4 separate regions of the Homo sapiens genome follow, and regions 2, 3 and 4 are each linked to region 1. Evidence: promoter capture Hi-C in 16 types of primary human blood cells and fetal thymus (Javierre and others, 2016). All regions are on one chromosome and are shown on one strand. The core of a region is centred on a gene start or on the middle of the fragment in contact, and the rest is flanking DNA. Distances in the headings are between cores, read along the strand shown. Region 1 holds the start of IKBKE-AS1 (IKBKE antisense RNA 1). Region 2 overlaps DYRK3-AS1 (DYRK3 antisense RNA 1). Region 3 overlaps DYRK3 (dual specificity tyrosine phosphorylation regulated kinase 3). Region 4 overlaps MAPKAPK2 (MAPK activated protein kinase 2).

Region 1 (6,230 bases), core at 3,652-6,151:
GCCCAAACAGGTATCACAGTCTGGACTCATATCCACTCAGATCCATGAATTTGCCTTTGTCCTGCCCAGCTGGTGTGGTAGAAAGGGCAGGGCTCAGAATCTCTGATCTCACTTTGTAGGTGCAGCTTGAAGGATCAGCAAAATCTTTCCCCAGTTTCCTCTCCCTGTGGAAACCCTGCTCCACTCCCAAGGTCTAGTCCAAACGCCAGGTCCTCCAGAGCCTTCACAGTCACCCAGACCTCACTCATGGCTCCTTCCCTGGGATCTCACAAGAAGCCCATTGTGCCTTTGAAGTTCAGATTATCCTAACATGAGTTGCAGCTCAGTTTGTACATGTTTGCCTCCCTTGCTTGGGTCTTAGTGGTCTTTCTGATCCCACTGTGCAGGGCTAACTGGAGATGCCCATTAACCTGTACCTATTCCAGGATTTTTTTTCTTAACGTCTCTTCAAGCCACGCCTCCTGCACCCAGAGATGGAGAGATGGAGGAATCGTTTGGTTTGGGGAGCATGGAGGGTCCCCGAGGACCTGCTGGGGCTGGGTAGAAGTTGGAGTAGTATTGGGAGCTCCATTTAAGACTCATGTACCTCCTCCAAGATTCTGGTCACTGGGTGAATTTCCTGCCTCCAGATGTTTGTAGCTGGCCAGGGTTGAGGGCTGGTGGGGCACCATCTCGACTCTTGGTGGAATGGGCTTTCTGTATGTCACCAAACTCCAGTGCTCCCAAGGGGATCTCCTAGGTCCTTGACAGTACTTGGGGACAAGAAGGGCAGATCAAGGGGGGACAAAAGCAGGGAGGGATCTGAGGGCTCCTGGAAAGGTGTCATCACGTAGAGTGGGGGCAGGTGGGGCTTGTTTTCCACCAGTTTTAGTGGCACCTCCTCCATCCATCTCAATTATGAAATTTTTCCATCCTGAGCTGCTCTGCCAGGCTTATGATAAGACTGGCGTGTGTGTGTGTGTGTGTGTGTGTGTGTGTGTGTGTGTGTGTTTTCTTTCCGCGTTGGAAAAACTCAGATATTCCAAGCAGATTTGTCAGCAATTTTTTTCCCTCAGCCAGAGGGGAGGCTCCAAGCCACAGCCACTTGCATTCCAGCACTAAGCCAGCCCTGGGCCCACTGCAGTGGCAGGAAGCCATGGACTGGGTTACAACAGACCAGCGAGAGCAGGGTGGCCTGGGTGACCTCACAGGCTCTCCCTGCCCCACCCCAGCCCCCACCTGTCTCCTCCTCTGTGCTCTGTGTCTCCCTGTCTTGCCTCTCCTTTCTGCTTCCTCTCCCTGTGCCCTGCTCATCCACTATCTCCCTCTCCATCCCTCTTCATCTCCCCCTCCCTCTCTCCTTTCTCACTCCCACCTCTTATCTCACCCCTCCTCCTCTGTCTCCGCTGAAGAATGAAGGGAAGGGAGCCACACTGCTCCAGCCGCAGTCATTCTGAGCTTCCAAGGAACAGAAACTGAAGCTACTTCAGGTCAGCCTGGCTATTCCTTAACACTTCCCATTGGGGTTGCCTGATTAAGGATCCTTTGTGAGATCGGGGAAAAGAAGCCAGAATTCCACCCTTGAAAAAATCATCCAAGCATGGCTGGGCGCGGTGACTCACGCCTATAATCCCAGCGCTTTGGGAGGCCGAGGCAGAGAGATCACCTGAGGTCAGAAGTTTGAGACCAGCCTGGCCAAACATGGTGAAAACCCCATCTCTACTAAAAATACAAAAATTAGCCAGGCATAGTAGTGGGCACCTGTAGACCCAGCTACTCGGGAGGCTGAGGCAGGAGAATGGCTTGAACCTGGGAGGTGGTTGCAGTCAGCCGAGATCACGCCACGGAACTCCAGCCTGGGGGACAGAGTGACACTCTGTCTCAAATAAATAAATAATAAATAAATAAATAAATAAATAAATAAATAAATAAAAATATAGGCCGGGCACGGTGGCTTATGCCTGTAATCCCAGCACTTTCGGAGGCTGAGGTGGGCGGATCAGGAGATCGGGAGATCGAGACCATGCTGGCCAACGTGGTGAAACCCTGTCTCTACTAAAAATACAAAAATTAGCTGGGCGTGGTGGTGCATGCCTGTAGTACCAGCTACTTGGGAGGCTGAGGCAGGAGAATGACTTGAACCAGGGAGTCAGAGGTTGCAGTGAGCCAAGATCGCACCACTGCACTCCAGCTGGGCAACAGAGCGAGACTCTGTCTTAAAAAAAAATAAATATATAAACATAAATAAAAATCTTTGAAGCAGTTTGGAAGTGAACCCAAAATGACCAGTTGCAGCAATCCTGTGAGGATACTGAAGCAAGGTGGCTCCATGAAAGCAAACGGTGGTTCCAGTAGGAGGGTGGCCTGGCCATGGTTGAGATCCATCCTGTCCTTAGACTGGCTGCCCTGGCCTCAGCTCTCAGGGTGGGTGTGGAGTGGGGTGCCTGGTCCAGTGTACCACGCACTGCCAATTGGCCTCTGTTGGGCCATTCACATGCCCTCTGCAGGATCTTTGTAAACTCTGCCTCAGTGTTCTCAAACCTGAGCTGGTGTGAGAATCACCAGGGAAGCTCATCAATAATACAGATTCCTGAGCCACACCCTTACGGATTGGATTCAGGAGCTGAGTGGGATCCCAGAATATGTGTTTTGAAACCAGGACACCAGTCTCAAGAGAGGAAACTGTGTGGATTCTGGGAGAGAAAGAGAGATATAGCCCTGTAGCGCCCTGCCCTCCAGAACTGACTGTACTTCTTGCCTGGGTTCCTGGGACAGGCCCCCTCATCCTTCCAGTTAGGCCCCCTTTTAGCTTGGATCAGCCTGTTTTAAGAGGCTGCTAGCCATGAATCTGAATGCCACATGGAATCTTCCCAGATATCTGTGACTGATCTGAGCCCCCGACTCAGCCCATACGAGACAAGAACTTGTTTCCTCTACCTACCCTGTGCAGGGGCTCATAGCTGAATGAGGTGGGGAGGGGATGGGGAAGGTGAGCGGAGTATGCAGAGAACTATTGTGTTAATAATACTGTGTTTGGGGCCAGTGCGGTGGCTCATGCCTGTAATCCCAGCCCTTTGGGAGGCCGAGGTGGGTGGATCACCTGAGCTCAGGAGTTCAAGACCAGCCTGACCAACATGGAGAAACCCCGCCTCTACTAAAAATACAAAATCAGCCGGGCGTGGTGGCACACGCCTGTAATCCCAGATACTCAGGAGGCTGAGGCAGGAGAATCGCTTGAATCCGGGAGGCAGAGGTTGCGGTGAGCCGAGATAGTGCCATTGCACTCCAGCCTGGGCAACAAGAGCAAAACTGCGTCTCACATAATAACAATAATAATAATAATATTGAGTTTTAGGCACTTTATGCACATAGCTAATCTATTCCTACCCACAACTTTCCACTCACCACACGGGCACCGAGGAGTAGTATCTTTAAAATACCAGTTGGACTTGACCTAAAACCTCTCTGTGGTCCTCTGGGGTAAAGTCCAAGTTCCTCAGTGTGGCCTGCAAGGACCTTTTGGACTGGCTCCTCCCTTTCCACAATACCAGCATCCTACTTTAACCTACTCTCCAGTCATATAGAAATACTAGTAGCTCTTCCCATGCCTGTGCCACTGCTGCTCCCACGGCCAGGAATGCCTCCCACACCTTCTTTGCTAGGTATCACCTGCTCACCTGCTAAGACCACTTTGGATTCACCTGTTCTCAGTCACTCCCTGACACTTAGGAAGTTTCCCAGCCTGACCTAAGCACCCTCCCCTGTGAGGATGGTGACTCAGGACCACACTGGATGTTTGCATTCCTAGCATAGCACCTCCTCCATGATGGGAAGCTATCTGTGGCATACCTGTCTTCCCCCATAGAGGTGAGCTCCCCATGAGCCAGAAAGGTGGCTTAGTCACCTCTGTAGTTCCAGCATCCCGTGGGCCTGGTACACTGTAAGGGCTCAGATCATGTCTGGTGAACTGAATGGGCTCTTTTCATTTTAAGTGTTATGTTAGGAATCACTGCAGAGAATGGAGAGGTACATTAAAGAGGTCTTCAGACACCTGAGGATCTTATGGGTTGTTCTGGGTCTTGGTCCAGTTCCTCATTTCCTACTGAGATGGAATCAGCAGCTCTGCAGAACCTCAGATCCAGGGAGGCACTGATGTCAGCAGCTCTGCCTTGCATAGAAATGAACTGAAGCCACTGGGCGTGGTGGCTCACGCCTGTAATCCTAACACTTTGGGAGGCCAAGAAAGGAGGGTTGCTTGAGCTCAGGAGTTCAAGACCAGCTTGTGCAACATAGTGAGACCTCATCTCTACAAAAAATATAAAATTAGCTGGGTGTGGTGGTGCACGCCTGTAGTCCCAGCTACTTGGAAGGCTGAGGCAGGAGGATTGCTTGGTCCTACAGTGAGTAGTAGTGGTGATCGCTTGATCACTACAGTGAGTCGAGGCTGTAGTGAGCCAAGATTATACCATTCCACTGCAACCTGGGCAACAGAGCAAAACCCTGCCAAAAAAAAAAAAAGAAGGAAAATTAAAAAAAAAAAACAACTGAACTGAAGCCTTTGAGTGAGTTTGTCCGCCACATCTCATAGGCTTTGCTCATGAGATCATACAGCCTGGATCATATCATCTCCCAAAAATCTGTATTTGGCATTCAGGGATCCCCTGGCTCCTTCACTGAGCTCCACCAAGCACATGGGGTTTTGCAAGCTGTTGCTGCCAGGGAAAACCCATTGTGGGACTTCCCTGAAGGGCCACTCATGGGCTGGAAGTGTTGGCCAGAAATTCAGGCCAGCAGAGTGGACGAGAGGTGGTCTAGTACCCAGGAACATCAAGGCGGCAGCTGGTCTCTGAGGCCCCAGGACTTGAACCCCTGGGCTTAAGTGACTCCACGGGCTTGAGGCCCAAATAACAAACACAAAGCCACTTGGACCTGATGCAAGGAAACAACCTCCAGCCACCTTCCCCCAGGCCTTTAGAGTGCTGGTCTTTGCACAGAGAAGCACCACAGAGGACAGAAGCCTCCAGGACTCACCCTTCCCCATTTCTGGCCCTACCAGGTGAGTAGAGTGGCCTCAGGATGTGGGGGCTCCCATGAAGATGGACAGGAAGGATCTCTGGGGTTATTTCCAGTCAAGCATAATGCTGTCTTCACGCTTCGAAGCACACAGTGGGGCTTCCCACTCGTCTCTCTCTCCTACTGGGGCTACCTTACTGCATTTCCCCTTCCCCTTCCTTCACCCACCCAGGTAGGTGGGTAGTCCAGCTCTGGTTTATGGGAAGGCTGGAGGTAAATTTGCAAGCAGTTTGCAAAAGTCAGAATGCCTTGCCCAGGCACCACTCTAGATTCTAGACAAAATGAAGGAATGCTTAAAATAACCCATAATACTATTCAAACCCACTATTTAGGACATAGCCTAGGTTTTGAATAGCTGTGGAGATGGGAAAAAAGCAGTAGCCACTTAGATGGTGGGTTTGAAGGAAAAAAAAAAAGAAGAATACCTTTCTCCCTAAGTTCCAGGCCCCTCACACAGCTTTCCAAATGATGCGGGGGCAAGAGAATGGAAGGAATGGGAAGGCACCCCTTGGGTTCTTCCTTGAAATTAGGGCCCATTTAGGGGAAAGGCAGAAATCAGGACATGACCAATTCCCACCCCCATTTCCCAGCACTTCTCACAGATCCCCGCCCAGACCCCACTTGGTTGCCAAGCACACCCAGCTGAGAGCCCTGCCTTGCAGACACAGCCCAGGGAGAGCCACCAGAAACAGAAGCAAAGGCCACATTTATTCCACTTCTTGAAGGTGCAGGCCTTGGACCTGCCCAGACTCACAGTCCTGGCTGCATGTCCCAGGACCAGCTGGAGCCTCAGAGAGTGAGGGAGAGCCAAAGGGGCCCCAAGACACTGGCACTGGCCTTGGCCACCCATTTTCTCAACTTTAGGCTCAGTCAGACCAAGCATAGAAAGAACAGGAGGCTCTCTATGTTGCCTGAGGCTGGCAGTGGTGACCCTCAGAAATCACAAGGGAGCGGAGAGAGCTGTGTTCAACATGAAACGCTTGAAGAGGAAGGAAGACTGTGATGAGGTCGTTTGACCTACTGCCCTGGGGAAACCCCAGGAGGCCTCCTCTCCTGTTGGCTAGGGAGTGAAGTCCTATAAACCAGAGGGAGTGGGAAGGCGTATGAGAGCTTCTTCTCCCCACGGCCCAGCCATGGGCATGGAGGAGCAGTACCTGAGCCTAGAGAAGATAGAAAGG
Region 2 (6,203 bases), core at 132-2,631, 140 kb before region 1:
CTGATGCTAAGACACCTCAGAAACACCAATGTTAAGCAGATTTCCATCGTTGGAGGTTAAAACACCCGAATACAAGTGTTTTCTTGAGTGTGGCATCTGGTCAGATGTTTTATGGGTTGGTTTGTTTTTAAAAAAAAAAAATTTCCTGTTAGATGGGTGGTAAGAACCAGTCAGAGTTTGTAAACCCACCAAGCACGAGGCGGTCGGACCGTCCAGATTCTGGAGTCCAGAAGACACCAAACGTTCTCAGAATGCCGAACGCGGGCGCCACCTGGTGGGACTAGAACGCTTATTGTCCCAAATCAGCATAGCACACAGTTCCCATAAATCTTAAAAATTCCCATCCAAGGCTCATTTCCGTGTGACTAAAAGTCATATTCTCTGTTCTCGTGACTCCAAGTAAAAATGTCCCTAAAGAGCCAAAGTATCTTCACTGTATAAACTAATAATCTATTGGTTTGGGGAATTTTATTTTTTGTGATCAATGTTACTTTAGCCTTTCTATGATATACATATAAATAAAAAAGTTTTCTTCCATGATGATTTTTTAAAGTTTATTTTATAAATAAACTTTTTCTTTTTGTCTCTCCCTTCCCCCACTTTGCAACCAGAGCAATTCTGCTTTCACAGGGGTTTGTATTTGGGCTCTTACGAAGCTTTTGTTTGAAGAAAGAGTTCCATGGCAACGCAAAGATTGGACGAGGTTACTGTTGAAGTCCCTTCCAGCTCTAAGATTGCAAAATTCTATTAAATAATCCCCGTTCTCAGTACTTATGTAGACACCTCAGACCACTTTACTGCCCTCCCTAAACAGTTGAATGAGACTTGCCCCCACATGATTTCTTACCTCATTCTGAATCACTGCTCGTGAGAGGATTGCATCCGCAGTCTGTGCTTAAGACACATCTTCCAGAGCCAAGTGGAAGGGTTCCTGCTCCCTTTCTTGCTCCTAAGGTGGGAAATACAGAGGCCGCCTTTGTCTTTCGCCTATTGTTCCCATGGTCAAGGGAAAGAGGACTCCTCGAGGGTGCTGGAGCTTCATAAATCTCTGACCTTAGTGACCCAATGTTTCTTCAAAGATCCCCTGTATGATGGGGTTAACGTCCCATAAGGGATCTGGCAGGAGCCTCCACACCCCTGCTGAGCGCTGCCCTGTCCCCTCCAGCTCCCAAGCAGCTTCCACATCATTCATGCCCTTTCTTCCCCTCCAAAGCCTCATTCAAGAGTAGTTTAAAATCACCATTATCATTCTCCATGCAGTTAAAGTCAGATTTACCCACCATGAATTAGCCAAAAGTCATATAAGATGCATGTCTGTCCTTTGAAGCCAATTCCAAGACATCTGCAAAATAAGGTACCTGCAAGTTCTAATACATTGACTAAGGAAATAAACAACAGTAAAAAAGATGCAACTATTCCAGGATCTTAAAAACCCACTGGGACATTCACAATGTGATCAAAGTTTCAAATGCACAGATTAAGAAAACATCCCCGTGGCCACATTTACCTGGAATTTTGTGATAAAATAGCTGTTAGTAGGTTATGTTAAGTTTGGACAAGTTTCATTGACATTTCTGTACAGCAAAATGTGCCATAATGCCTACTGTGACATGTGCATCACAGAATTGGAAAATATTTTTTAAAAATCACTGGAGAGAACCAGTGAAACTTACTTTTTTCCTCAAGCTATGTTAACCTCAAATTGACCCGTGTTCCTGAAATGTATACTTGCTATTTTTTTCAGAAACACTGAAATCTAGCTCACTGGAACACTAAAGCCATGGCTTATTTTTCTGGAGCCTCAGAAAACTGTCTCTCTTCTATACCTCAGGCATCTCCTGTTCTTATGCCCTCCCCTCTCCACCAAGATTTGAAAAATGCCCCTTATTAACAAAGCAAACAAAAGCCATGCCCGCAGTGCTGTAGTACAGCTACAACTAAGACACACTTAGTTCTGTGTCTCCTAAACCCTAAAGGTTGTCCTTATTATCACAAACTCTTCACCTATTTTTCTTTTCCAAAACTTTTGCCATCTTTTTCCACTTGTTCCTCCTAAGTCAGCGTGACCAGTTCCACCTATAGCCCTGAGGGGTCCTATGAAGCTTCATTTCTGAAATCTTGAAACCAAACCAGGAGTCTTTCTAATCATCATTACCATTTGCTAAGTATTTATTATGTTCCAAGCACTATCTGAAGCACTTTAACATATTTGCTCATTTAAAACTCACAGTAGTCCCGTGAGATAGGTATTATCTCCATCCTACACTTCAGAAAACAGTCTCAGAGTTTAATAACTTGCCCAAGGTCACCCAGCCAGTAAGTGATGAACTGAAATTCAAACCCTGGTCTGTTTGGTTGAAAAACTCAGCCCCTCGACTGCCTGTATTCCACCTGTATTCCCTGAGCCTGGCAGGCTAGCCCAGGCTAGACCACTGGACCCTTGAATTCTGTGACATAGTTTCTCTTGATTTAAGATTCTGAAGATGGTAAGCAGAATGATAGTTCCCCAAAGATGTCCGCATCCTAATTCCAAGAATCTGTAAATATGTCACTTTACTTGACAAAAAGGGACTTAGCAAATGTGATGAAGTTAAGGATCTTGAGATGGGGTGATTTTCCTAGATTATCTGAGTGGGCCCACTGTAATCACAGGAGTCCTTTTAAGATGGAAGGGGAGGCCAGGTGCAGTAACTCATGCCTGTAATCCCAGCACTTTGGGAGGCCGAAGTGGGCGGATCACCTGAGGTCAGGAGTTCGAGACCACCCTGGCCAACATGGTGAAACCCCGTCTCTACTAAAAACACAAAAATTAGCTGGGCATGGTGGTGTGTGCCTGTAGTCCCAACTACTCGGGAGGCTGAGGCAGGAGAATCACTTGAACCCAGGAGGCTGAGGTTGCAGTGAGCAGAGATCACGCCACTGCACTCCAGCCTGGGTGACAGAGTGAGACTCCATCTAAAAAAAAAGGATGGAAGGGGAAAGCAGGAGGGTCAGAGAGGGAAATGTGACCATGGAACAGAGGTCAGAGAGGGAAAGAGATTTGAAGATGCTGTTGTTGGTCTTGAAGATGGAGGAGGGGGCCGTGAGTTAAGGAATGAAGGTGGCCTCTAGAAGCTGGAAAAGGCAGGGAAACAAATTTTCTTCTAGAGCTTCCAGAAGGAACGAATCTCTGCTTACACCTCAATTTTAGGAGTTCTGACTTCCAGAACTGTAAGATAATAAATTTTCCTTGTTTCAAGCCACTAAATTTGTAATTTGTTGCATTAAAGCTTAGGAACCTTGGGTACTGTAATAGATTAAACATAGCACATCCTTTGCAGCTGTTCCCAGGGAGTAGAGGAAACAATTTTCCTGGTTCTTGAAGCTGACTGGCCACGTGACTTGATTTGACCAATAACACGTGAGGAATTTAGGCGCTTAGGCCTCAGGAGACCCCCCTTACAGCTTCTTCTCTCTTGCTCTTAGATGCTGCCACCATGTGGACAAGTCTGAGCTGGATTTCTGTAGTCCTCAGCTAATACCAATTGCCAGACAAGTGAGGGAAGCCACCTGGCTGAGTTGCCAGCTGACAGCAGCCATATGAGAGTTCCACGTAAAGCTAGCAGAAGAACCTCTTGGCTGCACCCCACCCAAATCAACAGCCCCTTGAGAATTATGAGCAAATAAAATGATTACTTTAAGCCACTAAGCTTTGGGGTATGGCAATAAATAAATGATAGGGGTACTTTTGAAAAATACCAATTATGCCTACCCTCCATCCCACCAGATCTAATGATGAACAGTTTCTTGGTAAGGATCTCTGCTCATATTTTTATTGTGGCTGTTGTTCATCAGCCAGGTTTGGAAATCACTACTGTAGACCTTGGAGACCAAGTCCTATTGAGTCATCTGGCTCATGGAAGGTCTTAGAAGACCAATGCACCTGCTCTATTCACAGCATTTGGGCCAAGGAACTAGTTCTCTCTCAATCACCTAGTGTACAGGTTAGGGCTTTTTCTATTGCAAATATCAAACTAAATCTGTTTAAAGAAAATGTACTAGCCGAGTGCGGTGGCTCACGCCTGTAATCCCAGGACTTTGGGAGGCTGAGGCAGGTGGATCACCTGAGGTCAGGAGTTCGAGACCAGCCTGGCCGACATGGTGAAACCTCATCTCTACTAAAAATACAAAAATTAACCAGGTGTGGTGGCGGGCACCTGTAATCCCAGCTACTTGGGAGGCTGAGGCTGGATAATGGCTTGAACCCAGGAGGTGGAGGTTACAGTGACCAGAGATTGTGCCATTGTACTCCAGCCTGGGTAACAAGAGCAAAACTGTCTCAAAAAAAAAAAAAAAAAAAAAAAGAAAAAGAAAACAAGGAAAAAAGAAAAGAAAATGTACCATATACCTTTTTTACAGTATTTTTTTAAAAGCAGTAAAGCTAAATTTGAATATGATGGGTGCCTGTCCTATCTCCATTTCTTGTTTCTATATTCCAACATGCTAGTTTCATTCTCAGGGTTCTTTTGTGCAAGCAAGATGGCAACTGCAGTTCCAAGTTCAACTCAGTAGAAAAGCTGTCTCAGTCATCCCACAGTCTCACTGTAATTCACTGGCTTTCACTGGGCCCATTCTTAAACCAAATATGCAGCCAGGAAAATGTAATACTCTGACTGGTCAGGCCTGAGGCTCCTAGACACAGCAGTAGAAACATATTGGACAGAAAGTTAGGAAAACAGTGACTTTCAGAGGAAAGTTGCTATAGCGGGTCCCAAAAAAGAGATAAGTGAATATGGTACAGCAAACACAACAGATATTCACTACAGCTAGGTGTTGGAAATCAGCTTTATCTGTGTTCTGAAAGTCCACATCAGGGTCACCAGGCTACTGGAAGTCTTTAAAATTCCCAAGTCTCAAAAGCCTGGACACCAGACTTTGAAATGCATCTTACCAAGTCACCCAAATGATGGAAGACAGGTTCCCCTCTGCCTCAAAAATGGCCCCCAAGCTCTATAAAACAATTCATGAAGTACTTCCATGCATGATAATTACAGCTCAGCAGCTAGGGGCCCTACCACCATGCCTCTGTGTTCCTAATCCTCAAATTTCATTCACCTGTCTGTACTTTAATAAAAGCCGGATTGGGGGTGTTCCAGTCAAACTTGTGCCTAGGAAGCTAATCCACTAGGGTTGTTAAAACTAAGCTGGAAATGTAAGAAGTAGGAGAATATTGTTTTTATTTAGATTACATTCATGGAGACAACCATATGTGCCTGGAAGAAATGCTTGGTTGAGCACCTAGTGGGAACAGTTGGGGGATAAGGGTAAGGCTCCCCAAAGAAATTCCAAAAAATCCTTATGATCCCTATACTGTCTCAAAGCAGGGTAGGTCCAGCTGTCCGCAGGATTGGGGAGTCTCAAGCTGGAGGTCCTCCTCTCTGCCCTTTCCTCTGCCCAGCTCAGCCCCTTCTCTAATAATGATGAGCAAATATCTGGGTTGGAGGAAAATTCAGGTGTTTCCATGGGCATTGATTAGAATGATATATGCATGGGTCTGTCTCAATCCTTGATTATTTATTAATAATCTTCATATTCCCCATGCCAGACACTAGTGGCTCTCAGCAAGGATGCTGATGTCAGCAGCATTTTAGAAATTATTCCGCAGTACATGGACATCTCTGTCTTTATTTGTCCTACTTTCCCAACATTCTACTTGCTGGTCACCTTGGCTTGAGAAAGCCTTCACTTTTGTTTGTTTGCTTGCTGCTTACTTGCTTGCTATTTAAGAGAAAAGCCTGCTCTTGTCCTGGAAGCCTGGAAACACACACAGCCTTCCTAGGCTGAGACCCCTGCAGGAACTGCAGAGATCAGGAAATATGTCTCCACTGGGCCCTGAAAACCAGCCTCTTTCCTTCAAGATTCCCAGGCCCTCCTTGGCTTTCTCTATTGTCGGGAGTTCCAGGAGCTGCTCTCTCCTCTGATGCGCTGACTACTTTCTTCTTTCTTCTTCTTCTTTCTTCTTCTTTCTTCTTCTCCTTTCTTCTTCTTCTTCTCCTTCTTCTCCTTCTCCTACTTCTTCTTCTTCTTCTTCTTTCTTCCTCTTCTTTTTCTTCTTTCTTCCTCTTCTTCTTGTGTGTGTGTGATCGTTTTAATAGTTGATACCAATACAATTTTTTAAATTATGCTTTAAGGTAAAGAGATTTGAGAGGATGTCTTTCTGTATT
Region 3 (6,266 bases), core at 985-3,484, 150 kb before region 1:
TAACTCATGCTTTGTTTCAACTGGAGGGTCATGACACTGTTGGGCCTACAGGAAAACCATTCATAAGTCAATGTAAGCTCATATCTACTGAAAGAGTAGATTTGAGTTTTTTGAGTAGATATGAGCTTTTACACCCTAAGTTACAATGAAAAGATTCACTGAAGAAGGATTCAATCATGCTGTACTACTTCCTGGAGTTGGCAGAGAAATCATCCATTTCTTGGTAGTTGAAAGAAGGCTGATCCAAGAACACAGTGAAGAGATGTTCCCATTTCTCAAGGTGTTTCATCTTCCTGGCCATGATGATTTAGCACCTGCAAAATTCCCAAACCTACGCAATGTGGTTAATGCGGGGAAGCAGACATTGGACTACCAACTTCCAAAGAGTCACTATCTCGACTAGCAGATCATGAGGTAGATGAGGCAGTTTCAAGACCTCCCTTGAAGAAGGCAGTGATGAATAAAGAAGAGGAGGATGGGTTATGAGCAGCATTTAGTGTGACATCTGAAGAGATCAAGATGCCACTATCAGACAAGAAAACCAATAACCAGACTAATTTCACACAGCTTCTTCAGGCAATGGAATCAAGAGATAGGATGCAGACTTAGAAAAAAAGAAAGAAAATTCAGCAGGAGTTAGAGGGATCTAAAGGAGTTGTATATTTATTGCCTTCTGTAAACCAGGAGTAAAGGAGATAATTAAGGTTTTAAATAATCCAGTTTCTTAGTCACCAAAAGTACCAAGACTTCCTCCTATTAATGAGGCTGAAGGCTCAGTTTAAGCTGTTCTCTGCCATCTGGCCCTTGTACTTGGGAGACTAAAGCCACTGTGGACATTTAAATGAGAGAGATTTGCACTCTCTCATTTTTCACAGCCTATGCTACAGCAATCATGACTACTTTTGGATAAAACAAAAGTTCCTTAAATAATATACTCATGGCATTTTTATTTTCTTTTCTTGTTCCTACACTGCCCAACAAAAAGAGTCTCTTCCAATGTCATTGAGTTTGCACCACATTCTAGAATAATAAATGGAACTGGATCATTCTGAGAACTATATTGTAAAAAGCAAATATTCTACTTTAAAGAACACACTTTTTTTGGTTTGTTTTTTAGACAGAGTCTCACTCTGTTGCCTAGGCTGGAGTGCAGTGGCATGATCTCAGCTCAAGTGATCCTCCCACCTCAGCCTCCCAAGTAGCTGGGATTACAGGCATGTGCCACTAGGCCTGGCTAATTTTTGTATTTTTTGTAGAGGCAGGGTTTCACCATGTTGCCCAGGCTGGTCTTGAACTCCTGGGCTCAAGGAATCCACCCACCTCAGCCTCCCAAAGTGCTGGGATTACAGGCATGAGCCACTAATACCCAGCCAAGAGCACACATTTAGGATAGAACTTGAGCATACTTTTGTTCTGGAAGAGGACAGAAATAGAGCAAGGGACAGGAAACAACAAACAAAACCCAGTAGCAGTGAGTTAGCTTCTGTCCCGTCTCCACCCTTGTAAGTAGGACACTGGCTTAACAATTAGTTTTATTATCAGCCCTCACTGTTTAAATCTTAGCAGAGAAAAAGAAAAGCTGTTGAAGAGAATAAAATTAAGAAACATAAAAAGGGAAAACTTGATTATCACCAGTTTCTGGATTTTTAGTTTTCTTCTTCTAACTGAAGTTCACTCAGATCTAGGGAATAGCATTAAGCTTAACGTGAAAGTGGGGGGAAAAATGTGGCACATTGAAGTGGCAGGTAGCTGTAAAGAGAAGAGGGAAGCATTTTTAAACTGTAGTAAGGTTTATCCGAGAGTGATTACTTTTATAAGGAAGAGATTCTATGAAAATGCAGCAAGGAGGCTGGTCCGTGGAGTACCACAAAGCTGGGGAACTGCAGTTTTCATGCTGATTCTCTATCTTTACCACTCTGGGTCAATTGTGGCAGAGAAGCTGTTTTATCTTCCTTGGGCATGGGAGAGGAAAGGAGGAGGGATGCATATGACTCAGTTTTTAAATCAGTACCTTACAGGGTTATTTAGTAAAGTGGTAAGGCTTCTGTAAAATGCTTTGAGTGACTAGGAAACAAATCAGAGGCAAAATAACAACATAAAATAATAACACCAAACATCAGAGAACTGAAGGGAAGAGGAGCGAGTCACTGAAAACCAGGGACACCAGTTGTCCAGGTCACCAACAGCTTCCTGGTGCTCCCCCACCCCACAGTCTGCTGTGAGCTCTTTCACCTAGAATGAGCCTAGAGAATGGCCTAGTGGGGCAAGGGACCTAGCACTGGCTCTCAGCCACAACTAACACCACATCCCAAATTACCCCTCCAGAACAGATGCCGAGGGACACTAGAAGCGAGGAGTAGTTGGGATACTTTTGCTACACCTTCTATCTTGAGAGAAAGAGATTTAAACCAATAGTATAATACATCAGTTGAAATACATCTGACGATAATAACAAAGATGCATTGACCTATAAAAAGTCATTTAATGCATATTCCAGATGGCCAATACAAGCTGGTTAGGTAATTAGCCCTTGAAGAATTCTTTTATAATCATATAAAAATGTTTTGTCTTGTTTAAAAAAAGTCTACTCTAACAAAAACATCCACCAATGGGCTTGCATTTTTTCCATTTGCAGGTTTGTAAGATCATAAAAATATACACATATGCATCTCTGGGCATATCTCTGTCCACTAGCTAATCAGTTTTGGCAATACACTGCATAGGGGTATACTACCATTGGTTTCTGACATTAAGTTAGCTTTAAGCTTATTGGCTATTCCAACAACTGGAGGCAGCTTAGAACCCAATCCCTGGAAAGCACTTGCAGGATTAACTACCCGTTTCCCTGACACCTTGTCTATGGTGGTGAGAGGTCTGGGGACAGACTTGCTAATCCAAGGGTGTCTTAATGCTTGAGCTGGGGTCAAGCGGGCAGAGGGGTCCCAGTGAAGACACCTTTTCAAGAACTCTATAAACAAGTAGTCATCACACCCTTTCAGTGCTGTCCCCCAGTCTTTGCTGCCTGGGGGACCCCGCTTTTTACCCCTACGTGAGCGACCCCCCACAAGCACAACCCTCCCATCTGCCTGGGTAGTCACAGAGCAGTAGCGGGGTATGCCCTTGGAATTAATAAAGTACTTGGCACGTTTGGATTGCTCCAGAAGTTTTGGTGGTGGCATCCCTAGAAGCTCCATCATGCAGGCCAACTGGTCTCCTTCATCCTCTCCAGGGAAGAGAGGCTGTCCTGTTAAAAGTTCTGCAAGGATGCAGCCAAAACTCCATATGTCAATTGGTGTGCTGTAGCGGCTTCCTAAGATGATTTCTGGAGCTCTGTAGAACCGAGACTGGATATATGTGTAGAGCTTCTGGTACTCGAAACAGCTGGACCCAAAGTCAATGACCTTGGTTGAACTGCGCCCGTGGTGTTTCAGGAGAATGTTTTCTGGCTTCAGATCGCAGTGAATAATCTTATTTTTGTGGAGGGCATCCAAAGATTGCAAGATGGACTGGGCAAACTTGCGTACCAACTGGACGCTAAAACCCTGAAACTTATTTTTTTTAATCAGCTCATAAAGGTCTATGCTCAGCAATTCAAAGGCCATGCAAACATGGTTCCGGAATGTGAAACTTTCCAGCATGTGGATAACGTTCATACTACCAGTTTTATCCTGTTTCTTAAGATGCTCCAAAATCCGGATCTCCTCAGCTGCTTGACGATGAAAGCGCTTCTCATTGCGCACCATTTTTAGGGCCACGTACTGTCGAAGTTTGTGATCATAGACCCTGGCCACCTGCCCAAAACTCCCCTTGCCAATAATTTTCAGCACCTCATATCGATAAGCTAGATGGTCTCGAGGTACATGAATATAGGCCCCATCTGCATCATCATACCCTCCATTATTGGGACCACCAATAACTCCATGTCTTTTCTTGGCATTTGGACCTACAAAGTAAATTTCTGGATAATTAATTATTTCCAGTTTCTCATAGGCAGTGAGGTGGTGTTTATATTGCTTCAGGGCTTGTTCTGGAGTCAGAGGCACCACTTTGGGTGCCTTGGATGAACTGTTGGATTTTACTGTATTCAAGCAATCTGAACTTTTACCCTGAGAAACAGTAGGAGAGCATTTTTCAGAGTCACTGATGCCATCTGACTGAATAGTATTGGATTTTCTGTTGCCAAATTCTTGAAACAGCTGTTCTACCTTCATCTCACCTCCATCCAAAAAGTGCTGAGTATGATCTCCTGTAAACTGCTCAGTGGTCATCTATGAAAGAGAAAATGAATATAAGTCATTAAAAACATTAGAAAGATGGAAGAATCCTCCCTCCTCCAACTGAATAACAACAAAACATGTCCAGTCATGTTTACTTTAAGGTTAAAATGACCCAAAAAGAAGATAAGAAAAGCAAGAGTCTCTAGCAACTTGTGTTATATTAATTTTCAGACTCCCTGAATATTGCGGCCATCCCTAACCCCCATACATGCCTTGCTTTGTTCAAGACAAGATGATCTTACCATGCCCCCCACATGCCAGGTTCCTTCTTACAGATGTGTCCTTGTACTGAGAATCCTTCCACCCCCTCATCCCCTCGACTCCTACATTCCTTCAAAGCCCAGTTTAATTCCTCTCTCTTCCACTTAGAACTATGCCAAGCCCATACTAATTAATCTTATATCCTAACTGCAGCTTCTCCAGTTTGTGCCACATAATTTGGTACTTGATTATGTATAATATATGCACTACCTTACACTGTTTACTAATTGTTTCAAGTATCTTCCCAAATATTAAGGACATATAGCATGATGAAAATAATGCATACTGAAGTGTAAACAAGAAGGTACTATCAAGTGACAGAAGCAGAATTTGAACCAGAATAGGTCTTCTGGCTCCTATTCAAGGGCCCTTGCCATTAACATAACTCAGCACCAGGTTCTCCCAGCACCTGTAGACTAGCAGGGCTGAATGTTGACTATGGCCTGGAATCAACAACGTGCTCAATCATCTACTCCCAGGTCCCCATATAAATTACTGTAGCCTTTTAACTCAGTTCATTGAATCACAAAAGCTCTAAGTTAAAGAGAACTTTTGAGATCATCTGGACCAATTCTTCAAGTACCTGATAACAGTGAGGGTCCAAGGTCCCTGGGGTACTTATAAAACTCTTCCCTAGCAAGAGCCTACTTGATAAAGGAGTACTACTCCTTTCACCAGGTTTTCCACAATCTTCTCCTGGAAGGGATACTGACCCACAGAAAAAAGCTCTACTTACACCTCTGAATTAAGATTCTTTGAACTGAAACAAGGTTTTTTGAAATAAGATGGAGGAAAAGAAGGACAAAAACAACCAAACACCTAAGTAAAATTAATATTAATTAATTACTATTACAAAAAAAGGGTAACTATGTGAGATGATAGATACATTTAATTGGCTTGACTGTAGTAACCATTTCACTATGTGTATCAAAACATCATACTGGACACCTTAAAAAATAAAATTTTTTGGCCACGTGTGGTGTCTCACGCCTGTAATCCCAGCACTCTGGGAGGCCAAGGCAGGTGGATCACTTGAGGTTAGAAGTTCGATACCAGCTTGGCCAACATGGTGAAACTCTGTCTCTACTAAAAATACAAAAATTAGCTGGGCATGATGGTGCACACCTGTAATCCCAGTTACTTGGGAGGCTGAGGCAGGAGAATTGCTTGAACCCAGGAGGTGGAGGTTGCAGTGAGCCAAATCATGCCACTGCACTCCAGCCTGAGCGACAGAGTGAGACTCCGTCTCAAAAAAATAAATCAATAAAATAAAAAATAAAATAAAAACTTTGGCCAGGTATGGTGGTTCATCCCTGTAACCCCAGAACTTTGGGAGGCCAAGACGGGCAGATCACTTGAGGCCAGAAGTTTGAGACCAGGCTGGCCAACATGGCAAAACCCCACCTCTACTAAAAATACAAAAAAAAAAAAAAAAGCCAGATGTGATGCATGGATGCATGCCTGTAATCCCAGCTACTTGGGAGGCTGAGGCAGGAGAATCGCTTGAACCTGGGAAGTGGAGGCTACAGTGAGCCAAGATCACGCTACTGCATTCCAGCCTTGGCAACAGAGTGAGAGACTGTCTCAAAAAAATAAAATAAAAAAAGAAATAAGTGAAAAATACTAAGAAGGGGCTGGAAAGATAAAAATGTTAAATCTGTTCTTAAAAATAAAAGGAAGTCTAGGATAAATAAAAGGAAGTCTAGGATACTTAAAAGAACAACTGTT
Region 4 (6,010 bases), core at 2,044-4,543, 220 kb before region 1:
CAAATAAGCCCCGTGACCGCCACAGAACTTAACATTTTAGTGCAGGAGGTACACCAAAAACAAGCTCAAAGAAAATAGTTTTAATTATACACTGTGATTTGTGCTGCAAAGGAAAGAAATAAGATGCTGCCACAAAAGCAGCAATGGTTTAAGGGAGAATCCTTCTCATCTCTCAAAATTACAGACAGCTGCTTATAGGCTGGAGCAAGATGTCACACTTCTCAATTAGCCCAGCTTGGAAGCATAAGAGGTGGCAGATAGAGCAATCTTGGCTGAACTACTGACGTTCCTCTACATTGATTGGGGAAGAGAGTATGTCCTCCTTTCAGAGCCTCTGCAAAGCTCAATGAGGAGTGACGATGGTTCTCCCCTAGAACCATGATCTAAACATAAATCTAACAACAGGTTTTAAAAGCCTTAGAAGGTTGATGAGATAAAGATATCACACAGACCCTTCACGTGGGTGCACACATTCCCAAACATTTGGTTGGGAGGCAAAAGCAAGTCTCTATTTGTTATTAATGTTCATTAATATGATGGGGAAAAGTCCCTACCCAAAACAAAGCTAAAACTTACAACGGGGAATCCCAGTACCAAAAGCCTTAAAACAACCACGCGTCACTGCCCAGAAGATGGGGCCTGGCTCGACTGCGGGCCACTGTGCCTGTCGGCCCCCTCTCCAGAGCTGTCACAGGCAGTCACAAAAGCCTAGGGCTCAACAAAAAGTCAAGAGGCCTAAAAATCGCACTGTAGATGACAAATCTTTAAAATATTTCCAACACATGATGGATAAAAGGCTAACTTAACTCAGGCAAATCAATTGTTGAAGATCAACAACCTAATATAAAAATGGCCAAACGATAAGAACAGGCAGTTCAAAGCAAGAGAAACACAGATGGCTGAATGGAAGACACTCAGTGTAGCTCAAAGAGAAATGTTTATAAAAAAGATGATAATTTCACCAGACTGGCAAAAAAAAAATTTTAATGTTTGACCAAAATAAAACTCCCAGGTTTATGCAAAGATCTGGGGAGAAAAGGCACTCTCTTACACATTCAGTTGGTAGAGAAATAAACTAGTATTTTTGGGGAGGTATTTGGCCATGTCTATCAAAATTGTAAATGTTCAAACCTTGGACCCAGTAATTACCCAGCAAGAAACCATCCTACACATTATATTCATAAAGCATTTTAATGGCAAAAAAACTGGTAATAACCTAAATGCCTACCAATAAGAGGGTGGTCAGATAAATGAAATGACAGCAAATCCATACAATGGAAAACGTGCGGTGTCGTAGAAGAAAGAGGCAGCTCCCCATCCACGGCGACGGGGAGAGCAGGATGCTATTAAATGGGAAAGCAGATAAGGACCAAGATGATATAATACTTTGGCTTTATCTTTAACATCCTATTTTTTTTTTTTTTTTTTTTTTGAGATGGAGTCTTGCTCTGTCGCCCAGGCTGGAGCTGCAGTGGCATGATCTTGGCTCACTGCAAGCTCTGCCTCCCGGGTTCACGTCATTCTCCTGCCTCAGCCTCCCAAGTAGCTGGGACTACAGGCGCCCACCACCATGCCTGGCTAATTTTTTGTATTTTTTAGTAGAGACAGGGTTTCACCATGTTATTCAGGATGGGCTCGATCTCCTGACCTCGTGATCTGCCCGCCTCGGCCTCCCAAAGTGCTGGGATTACAGGCGTAAGCCACAGCGCCCGGGCAACATCCTAATTTTTTAAACAGAACTGCTTCCACCTTACTTAAGTAGCTTTTAAAGTATATTCATAAAGACAAGAAGCAAACACACCTAAAAGTTAATTAGTGGTTAATTATAAGTGGTAGTAATATGGATGACATTTTCTTCTTTTGCATATTTTTTAAATTTTCAAAAACAAAAAAGTACTGAACAGAATATATAGCATAATCCCATTTCTATAGTTTTGTTGTTATTGTTTTGTTTTTTAGGGAAGAGGGGAGAGGATATATGAAATTGTAGATGTTTAAGTTTTTTTCTGGAGGAATTTACCTCCCCTGCAAAAAAAAGGTAGCAGTGTTGACTACTGGGGAATAGGTACTAGAGAGAGGCGTGTATTTTTTTTTCTTTCTGTTTTATATCTCTATGTATTGTTTGAACCTTTACCATCTGAATGAAATTTTTTAAAAAAAATTAAGTAAAAGGGTTTGGGTTCTGAGGTGCAGTATGATTCAGGTCTTATATTTGAACCCCTGGCCTGAGACAGTGACAGAGATGTGCCCCAAATGTAGGCCAACCTTCCTGCTAGAGGCAGGAGAGCACAGATGAGAAATTTCACACTGGCCACAGGAGGAAGAGAGGCCTTGCATAACTCTAGGTCAGAGGCCACACTTGACCAGGCCTGGCATCTTCCCAGAGGATGTAACCCTAAGAATTGATAAGGAGCGAGCAGAGGCCCCAAAGCCCCAAACCACTGCTGCAAGCCACTTCTGACTTATATGGACATGAACACTGCACACAGCAGTGATGTCAACCACACAGGAGTCTTGGGTAGGAAACTGAAAGATGGGGACAGAGATATTTCTTCTGTTTCTTCCAGCAAATGGCACTGAAAGAGAAAGAGGAATTTTCATTTCAACCGCATCAATTATGTACCAGGTGCACTTTATATATAGCAAATATTGCTATATTTAAGCTTCCTAGCAGCCCTACAGAACAGGATCCATTGCTGACTCCATCGTACAGGTGCGGCAACCAAGGCCCAAGGAAGTATTAATAATTTGCCCAAGGCCACATGGCTAGTAGGTAATAAAGCCAGGACTCAGACCCAATTCAGATCTAACCTTTTATTCACAGCAAAGGAGGCTTTGACAAATAAACCCTGAGCTGGTAATATTAGTTTACCGCTGGCCTCTCTCGTCCCCTCCTAAGTGACTCGTCTTTGCTCTGTTCACAGGCCTGCCCTATTCGCATCAGGCCTGGGGCCAGAGCCCAGTAGAGAAGAGTCACAATAAACACTTACCAATTAAATGGGCAGACTGTACACCAGAACAAGATACAAGGCATCTTTCCCTAGGAGACCAGGCAGACAGTGGTAGGAAGGAAACACCCTAAATGTTCCAAGTTGGCTTTAAGCTAAAATCCAAGTGGCAAGAAGAGAAAGATCATGTTCTTAGTAGTATCTAGGTATCTAGTATCTACTTTAAAAAATCCACAGAGATGGACAAACTAGCAAGAGAAAGTAAGACGGAAGGAGGTCAGGAACACTGCGCCTCTGGCCTAAGCAGCCCCCATGCATACGACCCTGTGCGGCTGCCAAAGCAAATCTAAAATTTTACTTTGAAGCGACAAAAGCAATCTCACCTTCATCACCCCAGCTGAGCAGAATGAGACTCACAGCAACGTATACCTGAGTCCACAGATCTCACAGGGGGTGGAGGAGAGTTGACAGAGAATGTGGAGGAAGAGAAGGATCCTACAAATCAAGAGGGCGGCCCACACACACACATCCCCCACCCAGTACACAATTCCACACGCCTAAGACTGGAGACAACTGGGTGAGGAGAGAAGGAAAAAGAACCGGAAGATAGATGATTGTTATGGTGACACACAGCAGACTACATGGCCAGGGAGAAGACAGGAACCACTCTTTCCTACACAGTGAGAGAAATGGCCCAGACACAAGAGTGAGTTCAAGCCACCAACACAAACACAAGGTCACTGTGAGAGAGAAGTCGAGGTCATGCCTTCTGCTACGAGCAGGGCACCTGATAAATAAATTCTCACTCTACATTACCTCTCACACAGCTGAAGATACAAGGAAGGGAACTATTACCCTGAACTTACTTCTGGCCAGGAAGAAAAACCTAGTAAATTATGTTTAAAAAAAAAAAAAATACTTCAGCTAGCAAAAACAATAATAACAAGAACACCACATTGGGAGGAAGTAAGCTTGTCAATTCAGAGTTCAAAGGAGGGAAATTAAAAAAAAAAAAACTGAGACAAAAACAGTTGTTTAGCCTAGACTTCAAAAAAACCAATATTCAGGTCAGGCGCAGTGGATCACACTGAAATCCCAGCACTTTGGGAGGCTGAGGCAGGAGGATGGCTTGATGACTAAGAGGATACAAAAAGGAGAAGGAGGAGTTCAAGACCAGCCTGGGCAACACAGGGAGACCCCGTCTCTATGAATAATTTAAAAAATTAGCAGGGCATGGTGGCACTAGCCTGTGGCCCCAGCTACTCAGGAGGCTGAGGCAGGAAGATCACTGAGCCCAGGAGGTCAAGGCTGCAGTGAGCCAATGATCGTACCACTGCACTTCAGCCTGGGCAACAGAGTGAGACCCTATCTCAAAAAAAAAAAAAAAGAAAGAAAGAAAAAGAAAAAAAAAACCAATATTTAGATGTTGAGACCAAGGAGTATGATGGGCAGAGATCCCAAAAGGGAATGCATTTTGAAAGACAAGGTCCAAGTCTCTAAAAAGTGAATTCTGATCATCTAAAACACAATAATCGCTTAAAGAAGAAACCAGGAGGAGGCAGCCACAAATGTCAGGGAGAAGTGAAGAGCTGAGACAGTAAAGGATGTGTGCAAAGACACGAGCAACTGCCCATGAGCCAGGACAGGCCCGAAGGGAGTAGTCTGCGCTCACTAAACACAACAAGCAGAGCTTGTGAAAATGCTAGGAGCATGTCTTCAAGCTACATCCAAAGCCATAAGAAGAACCAGGGAGGAAGTGGCCCTGGGATGGGGACAGAGACTCTAACACACAAAATGACAGAGAATGGAGAATTTTCATCTCCAGTATTTCCCATCTTTTCTATGAAGGAGAATGCTCCACAGACTAGAACAAGCTAAACATTTACACACATGCTCTCTCTCAAGAGAAGCCTCAATTCTAAGCTAGACCATAAACCAACTTACAATCACCCAGAATTACATCCCAGGATGCAGAAGGAAAGTACAGGTTGATTCCAGAACCACTGCTGGCAGTGGTTCAGGAGCTGAGGGGAGAGGAGGTGGCAAAGATCTGCTTTCTGGCAGCACACATTCTCTCGAAACCTGGTACCCACAATGCTCCAGGCACTAGACCAAGCTCACAGGGCTTCAAGGTTCACAGTCTAGCCAAGAGGGAAAAAGAAGCAATATGTAAACAAAACTGTTAATAAACTATGATGACTAAGAGGATATAAAAAACTGGGGGGTTGGGACTTCTTTTTTTTTTTTTTTTTGTGACCGAGTTTCACTCTGCTACCCAGGCTGGAGTGCAATGGTGTGATCTCAGCTCACTGCAACCTCCACCTCCCAGATTCAAGCAATTCTCCCACCTCAGCCTCCCGAGTGGCTGGGATTATAGGCTCCCACCACCACACCCAACTAATTTTTTTTTTTTTAAGTAGAGACAGGGTTTCACCATGCTGGCCAGGCTTAGTTTCGAACTCCTGACCTCAGGTGATCCGCCTGCCTCAGCCTCTCAAAATGCTGGGATTACCAGCATGAGCCACTGCGTCCAGCCGGCACTTTTGTTTGTTTAAAGGGAAGGGGACAAATAGGATAAACTCCTCAACATCTGCCTCTGGAAAAGCTCTAGAACAAATCATAATCTGAACCATCACAAGCTACCCTGGGTCGCTTAAGAGGCCACAGCAAGCTAGTCTCGTTTCCTTTTTAGCAGAGTTTACTGAATTATAGACCAAAGGAATGCCAGACGCAAGGGGTCTGGACCTCTATGAAGTATATGAACACAGTCTCCTGCCCAGACCTTAGGGATGACAAAGGAGGAGGCAGTGAGATGACAAAGCATTTAGATAATATTTGCAGTTGTTATAAATGGCCAGTAATAAAGTGCTGTTTGGTGGATCTAGGACAGGCTGCTGAACAGGCACCAAACTGAACTCACGGCCCCTTTGAATTTGCTCCCGGATCTCAGTAAACGGCAATGACATCACTATCTAGCCAGGCTCCCAGATATAAATCTTGAGTACTCATCCTCAGACTCTCTCCCTCCGTCACCCACAGAAGCAATCCAATTTTGTCTCTGG

Evidence for each region. The method cuts DNA at HindIII sites, captures the fragments that hold promoters and counts their contacts. A CHiCAGO score of 5 or more calls a contact.
Region 2: a fragment that was not itself captured here is called in contact with the fragment with the promoter of IKBKE-AS1 in region 1 in 1 of 17 cell types (activated CD4 T cells); the score reaches 6.3 in activated CD4 T cells.
Region 3: a contact is called between a fragment that was not itself captured here and the fragment with the promoter of IKBKE-AS1 in region 1, in 4 of 17 cell types (activated CD4 T cells, total CD8 T cells, neutrophils and 1 more). The highest score is 7.7, in activated CD4 T cells.
Region 4: a contact is called between a fragment that was not itself captured here and the fragment with the promoter of IKBKE-AS1 in region 1, in 1 of 17 cell types (activated CD4 T cells). The highest score is 5.2, in activated CD4 T cells.

Annotation. Positions count from the first base shown.
Region 1 is chr1:206,496,399-206,502,628 of GRCh38, reverse strand. It overlaps IKBKE-AS1 (IKBKE antisense RNA 1), which reads left to right and starts at 4,901. Exons shown (of 2, transcript NR_172918.1): 1 at 4,901-5,035. IKBKE (inhibitor of nuclear factor kappa B kinase subunit epsilon) reads right to left here. Exons shown (of 22, transcript NM_014002.4): 22 at 5,740-6,230. RefSeq lists an enhancer at 4,807-4,956. The HindIII fragment of the contact is 9,082 bases long and covers 1-6,230 here.
Region 2 is chr1:206,628,533-206,634,735 of GRCh38, reverse strand. It overlaps DYRK3-AS1 (DYRK3 antisense RNA 1), which reads left to right. Exons shown (of 2, transcript NR_183645.1): 2 at 1-540. Among named protein-coding and RNA genes, the nearest start is that of DYRK3, 3.9 kb to the left of the region's middle. RefSeq lists an enhancer at 3,345-3,414. The HindIII fragment of the contact is 1,446 bases long and covers 659-2,104 here.
Region 3 is chr1:206,645,390-206,651,655 of GRCh38, reverse strand. DYRK3 (dual specificity tyrosine phosphorylation regulated kinase 3) reads right to left here. Exons shown (of 3, transcript NM_003582.4): 3 at 1-4,268. The coding sequence ends at 2,691. Among named protein-coding and RNA genes, the nearest start is that of DYRK3-AS1, 13 kb to the right of the region's middle. The HindIII fragment of the contact is 1,066 bases long and covers 1,702-2,767 here.
Region 4 is chr1:206,713,955-206,719,964 of GRCh38, reverse strand. The region is part of intron 1 of MAPKAPK2 (MAPK activated protein kinase 2); the gene reads right to left. Among named protein-coding and RNA genes, the nearest start is that of MAPKAPK2, 32 kb to the right of the region's middle. The HindIII fragment of the contact is 1,256 bases long and covers 2,666-3,921 here.